Linked DNA regions of Homo sapiens: region 1 is linked to region 2. Evidence: promoter capture Hi-C in 16 types of primary human blood cells and fetal thymus (Javierre and others, 2016). All regions are on one chromosome and are shown on one strand. The core of a region is centred on a gene start or on the middle of the fragment in contact, and the rest is flanking DNA. Distances in the headings are between cores, read along the strand shown.

The links. Contacts are between HindIII fragments. The CHiCAGO score rates a contact against its expected background, and 5 or more counts as called.
Region 1: a fragment that was not itself captured here is called in contact with the fragment with the promoter of NDUFB6 in region 2 in 1 of 17 cell types (monocytes); the score reaches 7.6 in monocytes.

Annotation. Positions count from the first base shown.
Region 1 is chr9:33,274,330-33,281,146 of GRCh38, reverse strand. It overlaps CHMP5 (charged multivesicular body protein 5), which reads right to left. Exons shown (of 8, transcript NM_016410.6): 6 at 4,583-4,691; 7 at 2,922-3,034; 8 at 1-338. The coding sequence ends at 288. Among named protein-coding and RNA genes, the nearest start is that of CHMP5, 13 kb to the right of the region's middle. The HindIII fragment of the contact is 4,352 bases long and covers 2,917-6,817 here.
Region 2 is chr9:32,570,110-32,577,148 of GRCh38, reverse strand. NDUFB6 (NADH:ubiquinone oxidoreductase subunit B6) reads left to right here and starts at 3,990. Exons shown (of 4, transcript NM_002493.5): 1 at 3,990-4,268; 2 at 6,097-6,189. The coding sequence starts at 4,089. RefSeq lists enhancers at 3,583-3,632, 3,903-4,442. The HindIII fragment of the contact is 6,496 bases long and covers 1-5,130 here.

The DNA.
Region 1 (6,817 bases), core at 3,843-6,342, 700 kb before region 2:
TTTATTTCAAATTATTATTAATGAATGAAAACAAGTCATACGAGCTAAAAATACTTTTAAACTGAGTTCGTTTTTCATAAGAAAAAAAGGAATCAAATTTTAGTACGAAGAAAGCATTTCCCAAGCAATGAGTCTCTTAATGGAAAAAATAAAAGAGCAATGTAATTAAACTTTCCTTCAAAGAAAGGAAAGAAACCTAAATCTGTTATGGCAAATTTGGAAAGATAAATATTTCCTAGTCCCATAATATGTGTTTGTTTTACAAGATATGCTTGAATGATGCAAATCTATGAAGCAGGGATCTGTGGCAATCCAAATTCATCCACCAGAACTCCATCCTGTAAAAAGGAAGCAATGTTTAGTGCCACTATTTTTCTATTTGATAAAAAAAAAAAGGATTACAAACATTTAATAGTTAAAACTCATTTCCAAGTATTTAATCAATCAAAACCAAAATCGCAGTCATAAGATGAGAACAAGCTTTTTCATGAAAGGTAAAGGAGGAAGTGATGAATCAAGAAGAGAACTAGAAAGGGCCAAAAGGGGGCTCCTCCACAGGGGAAAGAGAGTGAAAGAGGGAGAAAGAGAAATCTAAGAGTAAACCTGGAAAGGGGAAAAGGAGGCTGGGAGAGTCAAAAAGGAAAGGTTGAGGAGTGGGTCCTTGCCTCCAGATTTGCATTTTCACTCTGGACCAATACCTTTCTTAGCCTCCCAAATCCTTGAAGGAGCAGTGCCCGTGGATAGGCAGTCACTTCCATATCATGCTTTACTATAATCATAGGCAGCGACATCACTATCAATGAAAACACCAGGGCTGCTCTGCCTATGGAGTAGCCATTCTTTTATTCCTTTACTTTAAAAACAACAACAGGCCGGGCGCGGTGGCTCAGGCCTGTAATCCCAGCACTTTGGGAGGCTGAAGCAGGTGGATCATTTGAGGTCAGGAGTTCGAGGCCAGCCTGACCAACATAGTGAAATCCCATCTCTATTAAAAACAAAAAAATTAGCCAGGTGTGGTGAAGCATGCCTGTAATCTCAGCTACTTGGGAGGCTGAGGTGGGTGGATTGCTTGAATCCGGGGGTGGAGGTTGCAGTGAGCTGAGATTGTGCCACTGCACTCCAGCCTGGGTGACACAGCGGGACTCCATCTCAAAAAGATAAAACAACAACAACAACAAAACCCCCATATATCCACAGCATATATAACTCAGGAATCTGTGACCTTCTCAAAGTGGAAATAACATAGATGCTTCAGGGACTTTTTTTTTTTTTTTTTTTTTGAGATTGAGTTTTGCTCTTTTTGCCCAGGCTGGAGTGGTACAATGGCACGACCTCGGCTCACTGCAAGCTCCGCCTCCCGGCTTCAAGTGATTCTCCTGCCTCAGCCTCCCAAGTAGCTGGGATTACAGGAGCCTGCCACCACGCCCAGCTAATTTTTTATATTTTTAGTAGAGACGGGGTTTCACCATGTTGGCCAGGATGGTCTCGATCTCTTGACCTCGTGATCCGCCTGCCCCAGCCTCCCAAAGTGTTGGGATTACAGGCTTGAGCCACCGCGCCTGGCCGCTACAGGGACTTGTTACTAGAAAATTAACAAGGTGGACTATGGTAGTATTAATAAAAATTATTTCATGGGTTGCTGAGAAAAAGCAACCCATGGACCTGGGACCTTGAAGTTGCCAGAGAGGTCGGGGAGGAGTGGGCAGTTCAGAAAGGCAAGACTATCCCAGGCTCAACAGAGAAGGGAAGGATACAATAGAGGAAGATGCATACTCACAGAAACCAGTAATAATGGACCTAAGAAATTACCTGCTCCCTGCCCTTTGCTCTCACATTTTACAGGTAGGAAAAACTGATGAGGTTCAAAAAGAAGACATAAATTTCTGCTATTTTGCTCAAAGTCACACCTTGCCCAGCCTGGTTGTCATTATTAGTGGCTCATGCCTGTAATCCCAGCACTTTGGAAGGCTGAGGCAGGCAGATCACCTGAGACCAGGAGTTTGAGACCAGTCTGGCCAACATGGTGAAACCCCGTCTCTACTAAAAATACAAAAATTAGCCAGGCATGTTGGCGCGCACCTGTAATCGCAGCTACCTGGGGTGGCTGAGGCACGAGGATTGCTTGAACCAGGGGGGCGGAGGTTGCAGTGAGCTGAGATCACGCCACTGCACTCCAGCCTGAGTGACAGAATGAGTCTCTGTCTCAAAAAAAAAGACAATCATGTAGATTTGGACAGAGCTTTAAGTTTGCACAGTCCTTTACATACAAGATCTAATTTGCTTGCACAACAATTACGTGAGATACTTGTAATTATCTGCATTTTACAGATGCAAGGAAAAGAAAAGCTTACAATAGCTAAGTAATTAGTCATACTTAGTGTCAGGTGTTCTGATTCTTTTGCCTTAAATTAGAATCTTTCTACATTAAGTTTTATGCTTAAATTATTAATCCATAGTTTAGAAAATCCACCCATTCTAAACTCCTGTGTGTACAGGAAAAAAAAAAAAGAAAAAGAAAGGAAAATAAAATTAAAAATCCAGCCAGTAATTAACTGGTGTGTATGAAGAGTGAGACTTTTTCACTGCTGCCTAGCAAGTCTCATGCATGTGTTGCTTACGCTTTTACAGGAAATGTCTAAGACCCATCAATGGTACCCAGTGCCAGCTCACAACAAGGGTGATCATGTATGTTACACAAATTGTCATTCTATAAAAATATTCCTGAGCCTCAGTGACAGTGTTTATGCAGTCAGTTCATCATCCAATGCAGAAAAACCGGACCTTCAAGGGTTCACAAAATAATGACCAGGACTGTCTTTCTTTGTTCTAATGTTAAGACTACCTTTTAGATTCCCAGACTTATGGTCAAGCATAAAGCCTTTGCTATTTTGCATTGAAATATAAACAGAAAAAGCTTTCACCTTGTTTTTTGTATCAGTGGGAACACCTTCTGGAATTGCAGGTGCAGATGCTGCCTCATCCAAATAAGAACTGTCTTCATCAGCCAGAAGCTCATCACCTAGTGCATCCAACTCTGAGATTGAAACAGTCAACATTTAAAAAAAATGTAACCAAGAAAACTGGCAGCTAATAATTTCTCTCATTTATCGATGGACTTGAAAGAAGGCAGTGAAGAGGGCATGAGATTGTTGTATGCTGTGTGACCATTACGTGAAATCAGACTCCAAAAATAAGTCTGTGGTAAAATGAGTTGGAAGTGGCCAAGAGGAATGACAATAGCAGGTAGAGACTTATCAGGGGCAATTGAAGATGGGAAATTAAAAAATAAAGAAATAAGTGGAAAAAAAATGAAAGGTTCTAGGCAAAAATAGACCATGGAGAGAGCGGGAAAGCAGCAGTAGTAATGTAACAGGGGAATCACACAATAGAAATCCAGTGTGGAATGGTTCTGTCATCTACCCAGTTACTCATGCTAGAAACTGACAGCCACCCTTGACACCTCCCACTTCTTCCACATCCTGTCAATCATTAAGTCTTGTCCACTCAATTTTCTAAGATGTCTTCAATCTGTCCACTTCTGTCTGTTTCTGCTACCATCACCCTAGCTAGTCTCGGCCACCATCATCTCTTAAATGGCTATCGCAATAACTTCCAGACTGCTCTCCCTGAGGCCATTCGACAACCCTTCTCATTTTTTCATGCTATCCCCTACTCACCCTTCAGGTCCCATGCCTCTCTCCCACTACTAACTAGGTTAGAGTCCCTTAGTATGTGCTCCCATGCTACCCCATACTTCTTCCCTATAGTCTGTGCTCTAGTAATTAATTACTTGAAGCAAACCATTTATGTCTTCCACTGCTAGAGAAGGTTCATGAATGTAGGGGCTGCATTTTTATTCAGTGCTAAATTCCCACCACCTAGTAGAGTACCTGGCATAGAGTAGATGCACACTAAGTATTTGCCAACTATTCTTTTTTTTTTTTTTTTTTTTTTTTGAGAGAAGGTCTCACTCTGTTGCCCAGGCTGCAGTGGGGCAATCTCGGCTCACTGGAACCTCTACCTCCTGGGATCAAGTGATCCTTCCACCTCAGCCTCCCGAGTAGCTAGGACCGCAGGCGCACACCACCATGCCTGGGTAATTTTTGTATTTTTTATAGAGACGGGGTGACGCCATATTGCTCAGCCAGGTCTCGAACTCCTGGGCTTGAGTGGATCCGCCTACCTTGGCCTTCCAAAGTGCTGGGATTAGGGCACCTGGCCCTAATTATTGTTTCTTAATTGGTTTTGCTGTTCTGAGGGAGAGGACTCCAACTAGGAAAATAGTGAGAACAAAATCAAAAGGAATACAGCAAGGAAAGGCCACGTGGAGGACACTTACAGATACCAAGCACCAGGTCAGCCTGTACCTGGACTTCCTTCAGAGTTGATCCATCCCACTGTTGTTGGTGGAGTATGCAATCTGATGTGGCTGCCTCACAAGCTCTTTGCCCAGGGACAGTACCATAAACTAACCTTCAGGAAATCCTGATAGAAATTTTCACTAGCATTTGAGAAAAGGTCCCAGGCAGCTGTTGCTTTTGGACTCCAAAACTAAATATACATTACTTTTCTCATAACTTACCTGCTTCTAAATCATCTTCATCCAGTTCTGGGGTGCCATAACTGCGACTCAGTGCTTCTTGGATTTCATTTGCATCTTCCATCATATCCTCTAGCTGGTCTTGTAAATCCTACGGAAATATATATGAGAGGATTTTCTCTCATTTACCATTTTCTTTTAACTACCCTTTTCCCCTACATTCTCCTTTGAATCTAGACATGAGCAATTTTTAAAAAGATAATGTATATAAAATGCCAAGCACATAAACAGTTCTCAACAACTGTTAGTTCACCTCCCCTATCCCAGTCTTTGGCTAGCAATTTTTTAATGTTAACAACTGAGCAGACACTCCTCTAAAGGACAGGTTCAAGTAACTCTTAAAACATCCCTTCTAATTAAAAGTATGAGAGAATGCTTAAAGAATTAAAAACCATAAGCCCAAAGACCTCCTCTAACAATAATTATGAATGTTACTGACCCACATAATCCCTTGCCTATTTTTGGTGGCAAAATGTGAACTTAAAGAATAGAATTGATGATCTCTCATTTTATTTTTTACTTTATTTATTTATTTATTGAGATGGAGTCTCGCTTTGTCACCCAGGCTGGAGTGCAATGGTGCAATCTCAGCTCACTGCAACCTTCACTTCCCGGGTTCAAGTGATTCTCCTGCCTCAGCCTCCAAATAGCTGACATTACAAGTGTGCACCACCACGCCTAGCTAATTTTTGTATTTTCAGTAGAGGTGGGGTTTTGCCATGTTGGTTAGGCTGGTCTCAAACTCCTGACCTCAGGTGATCTGCCCACCTCAGCCTCCCAAAGTGCTGGGATTATAGGCATGAGCTACTGTGCCCGGCTGGATTTGATTTTAAAGTGCCTCATGGAAGCCCAAAGTCCTATGTGAGAATAGATGATTGTCAGCTGTCTACTATTACAGAAAGTTTTACTTGAAACATTAAATCAAGCAATTATCTTGATCTAAACTGTCAATCATTTTCTAGTTAATGAAGACAGGGAGGTTACTGAGACAAGCAAATTATTCTTCTCAAGTCAGCGAAAGACAGATTACACTGTGTAGAGAAAGGAGGCAAGAGTAGAAACAACTGAAGTGGTACAAAAAGTGAGTTGTACATGGGCCCACCCTGGATGGAGAATCAGAAAGGGAATCAGGATAGGTGTCACAGCCAAGACAAGGCTGGTGAAAAAAATGGACCAAGGGCATAAACCCTGTGTGAATAATCTACCTGTGCTTAACTGGGAGATTACTACAAGGCTAAAAATGCAGTTGTCCCTTGGTACACGCAAGGGATTGGTTCCAGGATGTCTGTCTATACCAAAATCTGCCCACACCCAAGTCCCCAGTTGGTCCTCCATATGGGTGGTTTCGCATCCTGCAAACACTATATTTTCGATCCTCGTTTGGTTGAAAAATATCTGCATATAAGTGACTCGTGCAGTTCAAACTGCATTTGCTGTTCAAGGGTAAACTGTAATATGAAACCAATCTAAGAAGTGGTATAGCATAACAAAGGGCAGCTGGTATAATGGTTAGGAGTGAGACTCTGGAGTCAGATATACCCAAGTTCAATTTTGCCATTACTCAATGAGAAGTAATGTCTCTAAGCCTTATTTTCCTCATCTGTAAAATGGAATTATTAATAGCCATATCTGGCCAGGCGCGGTGGCTCATGCCTGTAATCCTAGCACTTCAGGAGGCCAAAGTGGGTGGATTGCCTGAACTCAGGAGTTCGCAACCAGTCTGGGCAACATGGTGAAACCCCATCTCTACTAAAATACAAAAAATTAGCCAGGCATGGTGGCATGCGCCTGTAATCCCAGCTACCCGGGAGGCTGAGGCAGGAAAATCGTTTGAACCCAGGAGGCAGAGGTTGCAGTGAGCCGAGATCGCGCCACCGCACTCTAGCCTGGGCGACAGAGCGAGACTCTGTTTCAAAAATAAATAAATAAATAAAATAGCCATATCTCACTGGGGTTATTGTAAGGATTTATTGCAATAATATATGTAAAACACTAAGCACCTAATACTATATATATTTTACTGTGTTAATTATGTGCGGAACAACAATACACTCTTCATATACTAAAATTCCACACAGACAGGAACAGAACTAGTGTTGATAAAGCAAAAGGACCAAATCAGCACCATTTATCCTTCAGAATTTCTAAAGCAATGCAAGACATTTGAAAATTCTGCTGGGTGCAGTAGCTTATGCCTGTAATCCAAGCACTCTGGGA
Region 2 (7,039 bases), core at 2,741-5,240:
ACTTCCTACTAGCCCGTTTGAAATGCAATTATAACCTTTACCTCCCCTTCACCAGACACTCCCTACAGGGCAAGTTCATCTAACTTTGTACTCAGAAGCTCCAGAACAAACTCTCACCCACCAGGAGATTGCCTCAAGAGGTAACAGTCGATTTACAACCCAAAGTATACATGATGAGAAACTCTTTCCCACCGGGAAAGTTTTTGGCCATTTTAATAACTTATTTCTGCCCATGAAGATGCCAACTTGACTGCCTAGTAGATAAGGTGCCAAGCTAGCATGTGGACTTCCTACCCACTTGCTGTCTCCCCTGCCTTTCGAAAGTACCCACTTTCTGCTCCAAAAGTGGAGCAGTACCTTTGAGGCTGGAAGCCCATACTTCTTCCCCTAAGCTAGCTTTGGAATACAAAGTCACTTTCTTTATACCAGACCTCGCTCTTGTTAACTGGACTCTGCAAGTGTTGAGTGACTAAACCTGTGTTTCAGTTACAATTACTTATAATACCTAATACAATGTCAATACTCTGTCAATAGTTGTTAGGCTGTATTGTTTAAAATTCATATTACTTTTTATTGTTTTTTTTCCTGAATAGTTTCTATCTGTGGTTGGCTGAATATGTAATTGTGGAACCCACAGATACAGATGACTGACTGTTTGCCCTTTTTATTTTACCCTTATAAAGTCTCATTCTCTCACAAATATACATGGGGATTTTCAGAGGCTATACGATGTGTTACATTATGATTGAATGCAGAAGCAGTTATAACAATTCTGCTGTCATTTATGAAGCAAGACATTAAAGACATTTACAAAAATGTAAAACAATGGCACTCTTCTCACTAATTTTTTAATGAGTACATTGTTACTTTAAAATGTTTAATTTCTAATGCAGTAAACATCAATAGATTAACCCACATAAACAAAAGCTCTTTGGGATCTCCAACAATTTTTAAGAATTTGAAGAAGTCTTGGAAGCAAAACTTTTGAGAACTGCTGCTTCAAGCAGTCCTAGTTCCTTTCAGTGGAAAATGTACATGAGAGATCACAACCTAAGAACAAAAGATGCTCATGATTATTGGTTTGCCAATTTCTTTTAGGCCATTATCAACAGGTAGAGCTAAGACAAAATTATATACATTTTTAAAGATAAAATACAATATGAGTTCATACTGATTCTTCCTGTTCACAATTTGACTATAGGATTTTTACTTAAACACATACAATTTATATACATGTCTCCCCATACCAAAAAAGATCAGTTTTTACAACACTCACGTAAACAGTTATTTTCAGTGTCAGATTAACAATACCATGATCAACACCACTATCCTCAATATGATTATTTAAAACAGTTTAAGATTTTTTTTTTTTTTTTTTGAGACGGAGCCTCTCTCTGTCACCCAGGCTGGAGTGCAGTGGCGCGATCTCGGCTCACTGCAAGCTCCGCCTCCCAGGTTCATGCCATTCTCCTGCCTCAGCCTCCCGAGTAGCTAGGACTACAGGCGCCTGCCACCACACCTGGCTAATTTTTGTATTTTTAGTAGAGACGGGGTTTCACTGTGTTAGCTAGGAAGGTCTCGATCTCCTGACCTTGTGATCCACCCGCCTTGGCCTCCCAAAGTGCTGGGATTACAGGCGTGAGCCACCACGCCTGGCCAAGATTTTTTTTAAGTTGTTTTTTTTTTGTTTGTTTTTGCGGGTTGTCTCTCAGTGGATTTACAATAATTCAATGGTTTAAAGTTATAGTTGATCCTTGAAAAAAACAGGTTGAACTTCGAGGGTCCATCATACGTGGATTTTCTTCTGCCTCTGGCACCCCAAGACAGCAAGACCAACCCCTCTCTTTGCCTCCTTATGATTTTCTTAATAACAGTTTATTTTCTCTGGCTTACTTTATTGTAATAATATAGCATATAATACATATACAAAATGTGTGTTAATTGACTGTATGTTATCAGTAAAACTTCTGGTCAAGAGTAGGCTATTAAGTTTTTGGAGAGTCCAAAGTTATATGTGGATGTTTGATTGTGCCAAGTGGAGGGGATTGGCACTACTAACCCTAGCGTTGTTACAAGGGCTATTGTATTTAGAATGATGTGTACCTTTGAGATTATGCCACCAAGTGGACCAATTAAGAGCTACTGGTTTTTACTTGATTTTTATGGACTGCTTTTTGTAAATTTAATTTTGTTTTGTAATGATATTGTTAAAATTAAAACTTTAGAAAAATTAAATTTAGCAGAAATTAATTGAGCAATGACCAATTTGAGAATCAGGCAGCCCTCAGAACCAGAGGAGGTTCAGAAAGTATCGTTCCACAAAGAGGCCAGGCAGCACGCATAGAAAAAAAACAGAAATGAGATACAGAAACAGCTTGATTGGCTACAGGTTGGCCTTTGCCTTATTTGAACATGGGCTGATCAGTTGACCACCTGTGATGATTGGCTGAGACTCAGTTATTTGTTACAGAAGTATATTCCTAAGTTAGGCTGTGAGTTAAATTGCATACTAAGTTGGGTTGCAGTTCATTATATAAGGACTCAAAATACGGAGACATCTTTAAGCTAAATTTAATTTCACAATATGAAATATTTACTTGGTTCTAAAGTCAAATTTATGAAGTAAGATGTTTCCAGAGATGTCTAGATTCTATCCCTGTCTCCTCTATCCTATTTATTTCCTCCACCATAGGTAGCATCTTTAAAAACCTCAATTGTTTTCATTCCCATTATTTTGAAAATTTAAGAAAATATGTATATATATTGAAATTACCACCATCTTTCTCTTTTTGGGTAAAAGCATACTGTACAAATTCCTATCCATTTTTTTTCCACTTTGTAATGTATTCTGGAGATCACACCACAGATGTATATAGAGTTCTTCCTTATTACTTTTGACGATTGTATTAGCATTTCATTGCTTTGTTGTGTGAAAGTTTTTGGGAAGCCACTGTTTTGGACTAGCTTCACGCACTAGGCCCCAGCAGACCAGACCAAACCAGAATGGAGTCGTTTGTGCTAAGTACCACACAATCAAACTGAACTTTGAAATGGGCCAGTTTCCCAAAAAATAGGAAATTCCCTTAAGTCTGAGTCAGTGAAACAAGGAAGTTTCTTCTGCTTTAACCCTAAAAGTAACTTTGAAACGATGAGTCCACTTTTTGTTCGGTTTCTGCTTTCTTCAGCCCCTATTTGCCAATAAAACCAACCGCCTCTGCTCAGCTGATCAGAACACTCATTCTACTTTATAGAATGAGGTGTTTTTTGATTCTAGAATCACGAATAAGAGTCAATTAAGATTTTTAAACTAATTCGTTGTAATGCTGTCTTTTGACTGTTGTACTACAATTTATTCAAGCAGTCCTTTATTTAGGAATTTGGGGGTAATTTCCAATATTTTGGTATTATGAATCGTGCTGAATAGTCGTGCATGCTCTTTCATATTTTCACCACACGTATTTTTGGGTGAAAGCATGAATTCATCTATGCAATTTTGCTAGATATTAAGCTACTCTTTTCACTATTCCTGTACAGATGGAGGGACAGATGAGACAGCTGCCCAGGGCACTTCAGCAGTTACTGGCATAGCTGGGATTTGAACTGGGATGTAACTATTTTCATACACTCTCTAGGTCATTCCAAGGTGGGAGAGGCAAGCAAATAATTTTGAATCTGGCCAGCATATTCACTGAAACATTTATGCTTATCCTTCCTCCTCCCAGCATACAAGTTCTTCCTTAGCAAAACCTCCAGTCCTCTAATTTAGCATACTTTCGTCTAATCTGTCACTTTCCTCAGGCCCCACAACTACGAGTACTCCTTGTCCCCACCCGGTCCTAATTTGGTCGGGTATAGCGGAGGTGGGCGTAGAGAGAACTGGAGGTGGAGACCTTTGTGCATGCCCACACACTGCTTTCCTCGCGAGGAATCTGGGGCCCTTGCAGAGGCGGAACCAGGATGTGACGTAATAACCGCGCGCGGCGCTCGGCGTTCCCGCAAGGTCGCTTTGCAGAGCGGGAGCGCGCTTAAGTAACTAGTCCGTAGTTCGAGGGTGCGCCGTGTCCTTTTGCGTTGGTACCAGCGGCGACATGACGGGGTACACTCCGGATGAGAAACTGCGGCTGCAGCAGCTGCGAGAGCTGAGAAGGCGATGGCTGAAGGACCAGGAGCTGAGCCCTCGGGAGCCGGTGCTGCCCCCACAGAAGATGGGGCCTATGGAGAAATTCTGGAATAAATTTTTGGAGAATAAATCCCCTTGGAGGAAAATGGTGAGTGACAGACCTCTCCGGTCCCCCCCAACACATCCCACTGCTGCCGGCAGCCTGAACACTGAACGTCCGCTCCCTGCAGCCACACCAAGGACTGATAACGCTCAGTGCTCTGGGACACTGGCCAGTCCCGAGAGTCCTCCTGGAGTCTCGGGAGGCAGGAGTCCAGGAATATGTATGGCTTTGAGAGAATCATGCCTTTTACTGTCAAGTACAGTGGACGGGGGCGAATTTTAATACTTAGGTTTTCCAGGACGCTGCACGTTTGGTTCTCTTTTGACTGTAGAAATCTTCCCTCAGAATAATAACCAAGGACTCGCTAGAATTAAAATTCTGTGATTTAAGTATTTGAGGACACTTGTCTGACTTTTAAGTGTGAGGTTCTAGAGACCAAGTAACACAGTATCCAACCACCAGAGGGCACAGCCAGCCCCTAGCTGATAGTACAGCCCCATGTGATCCCCGTAAAAGACAGGGTCCTGTTGGTATGCCTTGTGAGTCACATTCAAGAGCTACCTTTCTAAACTACCGTTCTGTACTTTTAACACAGTGTTTCATTAAAAAAATCGCATTTTGGGCTTTGAAGAAAATCACTCATTCAAGAACTTTATTTTCAAGGCCTCTGGGTATTTTCTTGAGGACTGTTATGGATGATAAACATCTCAGAATTGCTTTCAGTTACCTGCAACACTTACTGATGACAGGATAATAGTAGTAACAATACTACGTAACACACGGGTGCTTGCTGTGTGCTTGGCACTCTACTGGGGGTTTTACATGTGTTACTTCATTTCTTTATTCCTGTAAGGTAGATATTCCTAATCCTCATTTTAAATGTGAAGAAACTGAGGCCTACAAAGCTTCAGTGATTTGCTGGTGGTCAGGGAGCTAGGAATTGAATATGAGTTCATATTGTAATCAACATGTATCTGATTCTTACTGTGCTACAAAGTCTAGTGCAATAGAATTGTTGAAAATTTTTCTGAGAAAGTGATATTGGATACTTATTTATGGTGGTAAAATTCAACTCTTCTCCCACCCTTTGTATCCCTGACATTATCGGAATATTGGCAGTCACTGATTTAAAGTTGACATCCCATCCATCAGCAAGTGATATAAGGAAGTAAATAAATAATAATGTGTCGAAGTTCACCTTACCTTACTTTAATTTATTCTTTTATAATCATATCTGTTATAATTCTTAGATTCTGGATTGTCCCTTCCTTGAATGGATAGGTGTTTTTTAATCAAGTTGGAAGACATGGGAAAGTTCCATTTTTAGTTCTTTTTTAAAATAGTGTTGCAGAGGGCATTTTGGAGTGAGTTTGGGACACCCCATCTTAGTATGTAAAACGTCCTTTTTCCAGCATTGGCGTTGTCAAGGTTGTCTGCCTTATACCTAAAATGATGTGAGTGTCATTGATCAATAAATAAGGGAGATGACTATACCTGAAAAATTCTGTAGGTTTGATTACTCTGGTTAAATACATTAAAATTATTCTTTCATTATTTTGCTATATTTTATCTTTAACAAACTTATAATAAGGATATTTTTGGAAGTCTTTAAAAAATCTATAAATGCCTTGTTATAGTCTTGCAAAATACTGCTTAAGCATTTTGGTCTGGACTTTGTAGGTATCTTCTAGCAGACTCTGCATTTACTAAGAATATTTGAGTAGATGAGGTTACCTACAGACTATAAGAAAATATGTGCCATTTAGAGTTTTGTAAAATAGTCATGGCATTGTTACATCATTGATGCCTTTTGTTCTGCCATAAATATAAAAAATGGGATATGTTTATTTTGTGTATGTGTTTTTCCCCCCAGGTCCATGGGGTATACAAAAAGAGTATCTTTGTTTTCACTCATGTACTTGTACCTGTCTGGATTATTCATTATTACATGAAGTATCATGTTTCTGTAAGTATGTCCTTTTCAGAATTCATTTTTAATATTGTCCAAAATTACTTTCTTTGTGGCTATCTTACCCTACTTAGTGGAAATAATCTGCCACTTATAAACAGATTTTGAAGTACTTTGAATTCTCTTAGGTAAAAGGTTTAATGAAAGTTACATAATTGGGTATAGTTTTTAAAAAATATTGTCACTAGTTTACAACTTGAAATGGATTTCCTCATAGAAATTAGTATTTAAGTGATAAGAATGTAGTGACCTAATAATACTAGGGTAAATTTGGAGTCATGAATAGGAAGGGAGAAAACAATTCTGCTCCTTTTTAAAAACCTGTATCTCGTATAAGGTAAAAATTCAAAATAGACAAAGCATATCTTTGTCATCACCCAATTTCTGTTCCCTTCATTTTATCTGATTCTTCACAATTTTTATTTATTTAGAACTCAGGATGTCCAGATGCCTGCACTTTTTCACTGATACAGATCTTGCATGGGCTGATGGAACTGAGCCAGTTGTGGTATTTTAAAGGCTTGGTCTGGTGCAGGGTGTTGGATCCCAGGCAGAATGAGAAGGGCATGCATTTTGGGAAGTGGCGTGGCAGAGGGAGCAGTGGTGACTGCGTAGCCTGAAGTGTTGGAGCACAAAAGAGTGAGGAGGGCATTCGTATACCAAGAGAGGGGTGTTAGATCCTCAGTGGGTTGCAGGGGAGGAGGGTGAGCACATCTGTTTGGGGAGCAACAGTGGCAACAGCCTAGTATAGGATATTGGTACCTGAGCAGAGGGAGGAGGACATCTGGAAGAAGGATGGTATGAGGCAGTGAGGCAAGTGGTAACTCAGAGCAAGATGTCAGAACCT